Regions from separate parts of the Homo sapiens genome. Here region 2 is linked to region 1. Evidence: promoter capture Hi-C in 16 types of primary human blood cells and fetal thymus (Javierre and others, 2016). All regions are on one chromosome and are shown on one strand. The core of a region is centred on a gene start or on the middle of the fragment in contact, and the rest is flanking DNA. Distances in the headings are between cores, read along the strand shown. Region 1 holds the start of DGCR2 (DiGeorge syndrome critical region gene 2). Region 2 has its middle 72 kb from the start of SEPTIN5.

What was found. Contacts are between HindIII fragments. The CHiCAGO score rates a contact against its expected background, and 5 or more counts as called.
Region 2: a fragment that was not itself captured here is called in contact with the fragment with the promoter of DGCR2 in region 1 in 1 of 17 cell types (activated CD4 T cells); the score reaches 5.0 in activated CD4 T cells.

What each region holds. Positions count from the first base shown.
Region 1 is chr22:19,120,863-19,124,762 of GRCh38, reverse strand. It overlaps DGCR2 (DiGeorge syndrome critical region gene 2), which reads left to right and starts at 2,351. Exons shown (of 10, transcript NM_005137.3): 1 at 2,351-2,635. The coding sequence starts at 2,557. RefSeq lists silencers at 2,027-2,466, 2,587-2,706 and an enhancer at 2,491-2,992. The HindIII fragment of the contact is 21,190 bases long and covers 1-3,900 here.
Region 2 is chr22:19,640,199-19,643,936 of GRCh38, reverse strand. No RefSeq gene overlaps it. Among named protein-coding and RNA genes, the nearest start is that of SEPTIN5, 72 kb to the left of the region's middle. The HindIII fragment of the contact is 2,401 bases long and covers 530-2,930 here.

The DNA.
Region 1 (3,900 bases), core at 1,102-3,601:
GCAGCAGGGGCAGCACTGGAGAGTGTGGCCATTGTTTTTTCTGGCAGTGGAGCCCCTCTGCTGTGCCAGGCTCTGTGTCCAGCACTTGTTCCGGGCTATGCCCTAGGGGAGTAGGAGTCACATGACTATCCTAGCCTTGGATTTGACTTTGGCCTCATCCACCTAGAGGGAGTGAGCACCCCTTTCTCACAGGAGCCAAGTGGAACCCTGGGCCCCTCAGGATGACTTGGTAGGGCGGGCTGGTTGTCACTCATGTTGGGTTGGGTCCCCACCTGCCGTGGCCCTTCCCCCTTTTCTCTGCTCCTTCACCTTCTTCCCTAACGCTGACTGCCCACTGCCAGGCCTTTGTGCATTCTTGGTTCTCCTCCTTCCAGACAGCCTCCTTCTCCTTCCCGCTGGGGACACCCCAACTACTGTCTCCTGGAAACCAAAAATAAAACTCTAACCCCCCAGCCATCTGAATGGACCCCTCCTCTCCACCAAGGGCATTCCAAACTTAACCTGAAAAACTATTTCAGGCCGTGATAGGAAGTGGGAGTCAGGCCTCATTATCCCTCCTCCCTTCAGGTTTCAGGCACAGCTAAGCAGTGTAACATCGACACAGAGACTTGAAGACTGACAACAGACTCTGTGGCAGTAAGATACCAGCATGACAGCAGGCCCGGAAGGAAACACATATTTTACTGCAAAACAGGTTTCTTTCACATATTTTGAAGTCGCTCTGCAAAGCTGTTTTTTGTGGGGAAAATCTACATTCTGTAGAGAATCCCTATCCCTTTCAAGGTCTTTTCTCCTGAGAGAATTAACTAGAGTCTGGCACCTTTTATTTATTTTTCCTTTTTTTTTTCCTTTTTTTTTTTTTTTTTTTTGAGACAGAGTCTTACTCTGTTGCCCAGGCTGGAGTGCAGTGGCATGATCTTGGCTCACTGCAACCTCTGCCTCCCCGGTTCAAGCGATTCTCCTGCCATCAGCCTCCTGAGTAGCTGGGATTACAGGCGTGTGCCACCACGCCTGGGTAACTTTTGTATTTTTAGTAGAGATGTGGTTTCACCATGTTGGCCAGGCTGATCTTGAACTCCTGACCTCAGGTGATCCGCCCGCCTTGGCCTCCCAAAGTGCTGGGATGACAGGCGTGAGCCACCACACCCGGCAGAGTCTGGCACTTTTTAATAAGAAACATTAACAGTCTTTTCTCTGTGAAGCCTGATACCTGGAGGCTTCATTTGCCTAAGAAACTTGGTCTCCACAACCCCTTAATGTAGACAGTCCCTTTTATTGATTCCAGGTCTTTAGATAAACTCTTTGAACCAACTGCCAATCCGCATGACCTAGAAGCCCCCCTCCACCCCCCACTTTCAAGTTGTCCCGCCTTTTCCGACTGAACCAATGTATATCTTACATGTGCTGATTGATGTCTTGTCTCCCTAAAATGTATAAAACCAAGCTGTGGCCCTACCCCCTTGGGCACTTGTCAGGATCTCCTGGGGCTGTGTCCCAGGCTATTGGTCACATATTGGCTCAGAAGAAATGTCTTCAAATATTTTACAGAGTTGGACTCTTCGCCGACACTGCCCTCCAAGGTTCACCCTGTTGGTGATGACGGGAGAAGTGGCACTTGGAGCACTGTTCGCAGGGGCGCTGAGCCTCCTCTCTGCCTAGCTTTCTTTCCTGCACATGTGGCCTTCCCCTAGCCATTGTGTAGGCAGGTCCTCCAGGGAGCCGGCTTCGCTGCAGTCTCCAGGACCTGGCCTTCCCGGTCTCTCTTTGCCTGACACTCTCTTAGGCCATTCCTGTTCCTCTTTCCCCACCCTCAGAACCGGCAGGCCCTCCCTCCTCCACAGCGGTTCGGCCTTAAAAAGACCCCTTTGGGGCGCACTTTTGGGCTGCTCACGGGACCTGAGCTTGCAGGTGTGAAGACCCTTGGAGTCCCAGCCAGGTTCCCACTTCGTTCTCTCCGCTCCCCACCCGCGCGACCCCTCGGCGCCCCGCCCCATGCCCCGCGCCTTTCGATGTCCATCCTTGCCGTCCCGCGCCCGCCGTCCCTAACCGGCGTCCAGAGACCCTACTCCCTTCGGTGGCCCCGCCGCTCAGGCCCCGGCCCCGGCCCTGCCTCTCTGCTTAACCAATGGCACGCCTCACTCCGTATGGTCCCGCCCTTCCCTTAGAGCCCGCCCCTCAGTCCCCGCCCTTAGGTCCCCGCCCTCCGCCGTCGCGACCTTAGGCCTCACCCTCTTCGGAGGGCTTTGGCTCTGGCCCCGCCCCCCATCTTGACGGTCATTGGCCCGCGCCTGCGTCGCGGGCGGGAGGCGGGGCGGGGCGGCGCGGCGCGGAGCCGAGCAGGACGGCCGCCATCTTGCGCGCAGCTGGAGTCGGTGCCTGAGGTTGCAGCCGAGAGTGTGCGCCAGCCCGCGGCCCAGCCGAAGCTCTTTCCCGCCGCCTCTCCGCGCCTCGCCCAGGTTCAGCTCCGCCTGACCCTCCGCTTGGCACGGTCCCCTGACCCTCAGTCCGGCCTGGTCCGGCCTTCCAGCCGCCCCGGGGACGATGAACGGAGGATAAATGGTGCCCAAGGCAGACAGCGGCGCCTTCCTGCTGCTCTTCCTGCTCGTGCTCACTGTCACCGAGCCGCTGCGGCCAGGTGCGCCGCGCGATGGGGGCGGTGTGGGGGCTGGGCGGCGAGCGGGGCCGGGGTCGCCCCGGGACCTCCTTTCACCCGCGGCGCCCTCCTGCAGGGGCCGCGCCTGGGGCAGGGGCGGGCGGGGCCTGGCTCGCGGGCCGCCTGGCACTCTCTGCGGACGCCTGCTGGAGCTTACCTGGGCTCGCGGCGCCTCGGACTTCGTGCAGCTCTGCTGTCCAGGATGTTGCCTCTGGGCCCTTCCCGGGAGCGGCGGCGGCCAGGAGCTACGCCACGGGCGCACCCTCTCGCCAGTCCAGCGTCGGAGTCGGGCTGGGGACAGTGGCTCTCAGGGGCACCTGGTTTCACAGACGTCCTCCCAGCAGTGGCCTAGTGCCAGCCTCTCAGTCCTGGAAACTCCTCGCCTGGACAGCGGTGGTTGTGGCTGTCATTCAGTGAGACGTTGCGCTAAGGAAGTCCTCAGGTCCCACCGGGCCTAGAGGAGGCACCAGGAGTCAGCCTAGCGTTGTGTGGCCGGCGCGAGCGTCCCGGGAGCAGAGACCTCGCCACTGTGCGGGGCCCTTAGCCGTGCTGCGTGTATGTGATGAATGAGTCCGTGCTTTGGAACTCCCCTCGGAGCTAGTGTGTTCTTAAGTCTGTGGTGGGGAATCAGAACCGTGGCAACCAGGAGACCCTTTTCTACCTATTTCGGTGTACCTCCCCTTGAACTGCACCAAAAAATCAAACTCCCTAAATGCAGGGCCGATGTATCCATCAGGCACAGGAATCCTGGTATCACTTGCCCACGGTACTTTTAGTAGCCTTCGAATGTTATTTTATTTTTTTTTAAAGTCAGCAGAAAAAAAATGAACTTTTAGGTCAAATAAAATGTTTTCGTATGTATATTAATACAGTCATCTTTATACTAATACAGTGAAAAAGCATGACTCTTAATATTTCTTAATGGAGGAAAGGTCCCATGAAGGCAGAAGTGCCAGGGCCATCTTCTCTGATGACCTGGGTGTGGGAGCACGGGGTGTGTGGCCCTCTCCTGTGCCCTAGCCAGGCTCCCAGCCCAGATACACCGCACCTCTTGGCTCTGCGCTTGTGTCATCTATGTGGAATGTCTGCCTCCTCCCTAGTGCCTGCCTGGTGGCCAAGGCCCTGACCGGTGCTCAACCTGGACAGATTCAGTGATGCTTCTCTGGTCTCCCCATGTAGAGCTAGTTGCTCACTGCTTTTGGCTGCTCTCTGGGCAGCGGGATGACTAGTTGTGGGGTGGCCTTGGT
Region 2 (3,738 bases), core at 481-2,980, 520 kb before region 1:
ATCACCCGCCCCACCCTGGGGGCTGATGGGAAGATCTGGATGGACTGAGGCAGGCACTTATGGTTAGAAAAGCCCTCCTGGGAAATCTGATGCATACCCCTAACTGGGAACCACCGGATTTAAGAGCCAAATGTAATAAACCAAATACAGGGGAAAAACAGGAAAATGCTCCCTTTCCCTCAAATGTGCAAGCATCGTCTAAGCATAGGAGCAAAGGTGATGCCGTGAAGATAAGAAGCCAGAGGTCTGGCCATGGAAACCCATAGACGTGCAAAGGCCATGATAACATGCTGGAAGGCATATGACAAGGGAATTGAAGAGCTTTTGCACATCAGCCAGGAAGAGGTAAACATTCCAGTACAAAAATGGGCAAATGATAAGAAAAAGCAATTCACAAAAGACAATTACAAATAGCCAAGCAACAGGCAATGAGCACTCAGCCTCAGCAGGCAGCAAACAAATATACCTAGTTTTAAAGTGAGGTTTCAGGCAGCCGTATATGGGCCTATATAAAACTTATCTCCAAGCTTCAAAATTAAGTGAAAAAGGCTGGGCGTGGTGGCTCACACCTGTAATCCCAGCACTTTGGGAGGCCAAGATGAGCGAATCCCTTGAGCCTAGGAGTTTGAGACCAGCCTGGCCAACATGGCTAAATGCCATCTCTACAAAAAATACAAAATTAGCCTGGCATGGTGGCGCCCACCTGTGGTCCCAGCTACTAGGGAGGCTGAGGTGGGAGGATCTCTTGAGCCCAGGAGGTCGAGGCTGCAGTGAGCCTGCAGTCCAGCCTGGGTGACATAATGAGACACTGTCTCACAATAAAATAAAGTGAGGTTTCATTTTTGGCCGATCACAATGGCAAAGTCTCTTTCCAAAGGGTATGTGTGGTGGCCTGTGGCCAAGGCCTGTGCCTCCAGCAGGGCCCAGAGCACTTCCAGGAGCCCCTCCTTGATCCAGGATTCTCCTCCAGTCATTTATCGTTTAGGAATTTCAATAATTGAGTACAGCCATCTTGTTCCAAGATGTTCCCAATATTATGTATACCAGGAAAGAAGAAAGAAACAAGAATATATGACTAACCACCAGAGAACAGTTAAATCCATTTCAGCATCTAATGGAATGAAGGCAGTTACTGGTAACTGTATTTTAGGAGATGATTGAATAATATGAAAAATCCTTTTAAAGGGATGAAAACAAGGATCAAAACTAAATATAGAATATTTCCACTTAAAATATGCACTTATATCTGTTTACCAAAATCCAGGAAAATTTGTTAATGCTTGAACAATGATCACTGTGGCTTGGTGGGGGCACCAGGTAATTTTAATTTTCTTCTGTATACTTTTCTATGGTTTCTGAATTTTCTGAAATTATTACACTATGACTACAGTCAGTAAAAAGTATTATTAAAAGGATCGTTGTAGTCTTTCCCCAGGGCTCCCGGTGTGCGAGCCACGTTTCCTTAGCCTGGTTGTTCTTGGCACATCTGTTCCCAAAAGGAGGTGGGCACAGCTGGTCAAGGCCAACATGGGGCCCACTTCCTCGGTCCCATTGCTCCCTTAGGAGGCAGACGGTGCTTGGTCCATGCAGTTCTGCAGTCACACCCTACACGCCTGCCACATCGGCCACAGGTAACCACGCATGGGTGCTGAAGGAAGACCTGGCACCGCTGCTGCGTGGGCACTGCAGGATGGCGTGGAGCGGGCCCAGGCGGGCCTGGACAAACCCTGCTCTTGGGCGCATCTGTGGCCTGAGAAAGGGGGCAGCAGCTGGGCTCCAAGCGGTCAGTGCCAACACCAGGACAGCCCCATGCATGGCACGCACTCTGATGTCATTAAAAACAGAGGAAGCCCGAAAGAGCCCTGCACACACGCTCACCAGTGTCTCACAGTCCTCGCCCAGGAATCCCACGGTGCCTCACAGTGGACACGCCCTTACCTGGCCAATGCTGCCCCCCTGCCCCCTCCCCCACCTCTTCTCCTTCCCTTCGTCTTCCCCTCTCACCTTTCCCTCCCTCCCCTCCTCCCTCCTCTCCTTCTCCACCTTCCCCCTCCACCCCTCTCAGACCCACTGGACTGCAGCCACCACACAGCCAGATGCTGTACTGCGTGGAGAGCAGGTACCTCCACTCCGAGGACATGCTCTAAAGTAGCAGTCCCCAACCTTCTTGGCACCAGGGACCGGTTTCGTGGAAGACAATTTTTCCACCGATGGGGTTGGGTGGGGGATAGTTTCGGGGTGAAATTGTTCCACCTCTGATCATCAGACATTAGATTCCCGGAAGGAGCGCACCACCTGGATCCCTCACATGCGCAGTTCACGATAGAGTTTGCCTCCCATGAGCATGGAATGCCCAGCTGATCCGACAGGGGGCGGAGCTCGGCGGTAAACTCGCCCACCGCACACCTCCTGCTCTGAGGCCCGTTCCTAACAGGCCACAGACCTGTACCACTCCGCAGCCCAGGGGTTGGGGACCCTGCTCTAAAGAACGGGTTTGGGGGACACCCTCTGAAGCACCGCCCCTCCTCCTTTAGAGAAGGGAAGGGTGGTTTTGTCTTCAGTGCCCTTCGCTTTTGTGGGACTTCTGGCTGGAGGTGGAACTGGTGACTTTTCATGACAACCCACCCCGCGCATGGGTGGCTCAGAGGAACCTCCCAAAGGAGCCAGTGGTATCGAGATGCAGAGGAGGAAAAGCCGTGTGATATGAATGGGCTAGGGAGGATCCGAGGATGCCGCCATGGCCCGAAGGGAAGGAGGGAGCCAGGAAGAAGATGCTTCCCTGGAAAGAGGGTGGTGGTTTTCTGTTTTATAGCAGAGATCTCAGAAAATACATGAAAATCAGTGTTTGCTTGATTAATTTTGAACAAATTGTAAAAATCAAATATATTTTCCAACTTTTGATCCATGCAGGGCTTTAAGCAGAAAAAGCTTCTCGTCATCCACAGGGCACACCTGCTTGCCCACCGACCTGCCTGCCACCTGCACTAACGCCACAGGCAGGAAAGCAAGGTCTCCATGAGACAACTGCACACAAGAGATAGTGCACTCACTACTCATAACAGCCAGGGTGCTACGAGTAGGTGGAGGCAACACAAGTGTCCATCAATGGATGAAAGGATAAACAAAATGTGTGTGTGCGGACAATGGAACATCACTCAGCCGTCAAAAGGAGGAAATTCTGGGTCGGGTGCAGTGGCTCACACCTGTTATCCCAGCACTTTGGAGGCTAAGATGGGAGAATTGCAACCTAGCGAGACCCTCTCTCAACAAAAATAAAATGCTAGCCACGCATGGTGGTGCATGCCTATAGTCCCAGCTACTGGGAAGACTGAGGCAGGAGGAGCTCTTGAGCCCAGGAGTTTGAAGCTGCAGTGAGCCATGATCCTACCATTGCACTCCAGCTTGAGTGACAGAGTGAGACCTTGCCAAAAAAAAAAAAAAAAAAAAAAAAAAGAAAGAAGGAATTGTGACACATGTTACAACAGGGATGAACTCTGAGGTCATTATGCTCAGTGAAATAAACCAGTCACAGAAAGACAAATACAAATACTGCATGGTTCCACTTACATGAGGTACCCTAGAGGAGTCAAATCCACGGAGACAGAAATAGAATGGTAGGCGCCAGGGGCAAGGGGAGGAGAATGGGGATGGGGAATGAGTGCTTCATGGGGATAGTTTGTGGTGGGAAGCTGAAGAGTCCTGGAGCCAGATGGTGGAGACGGTTGAAAAGTCCTGGAG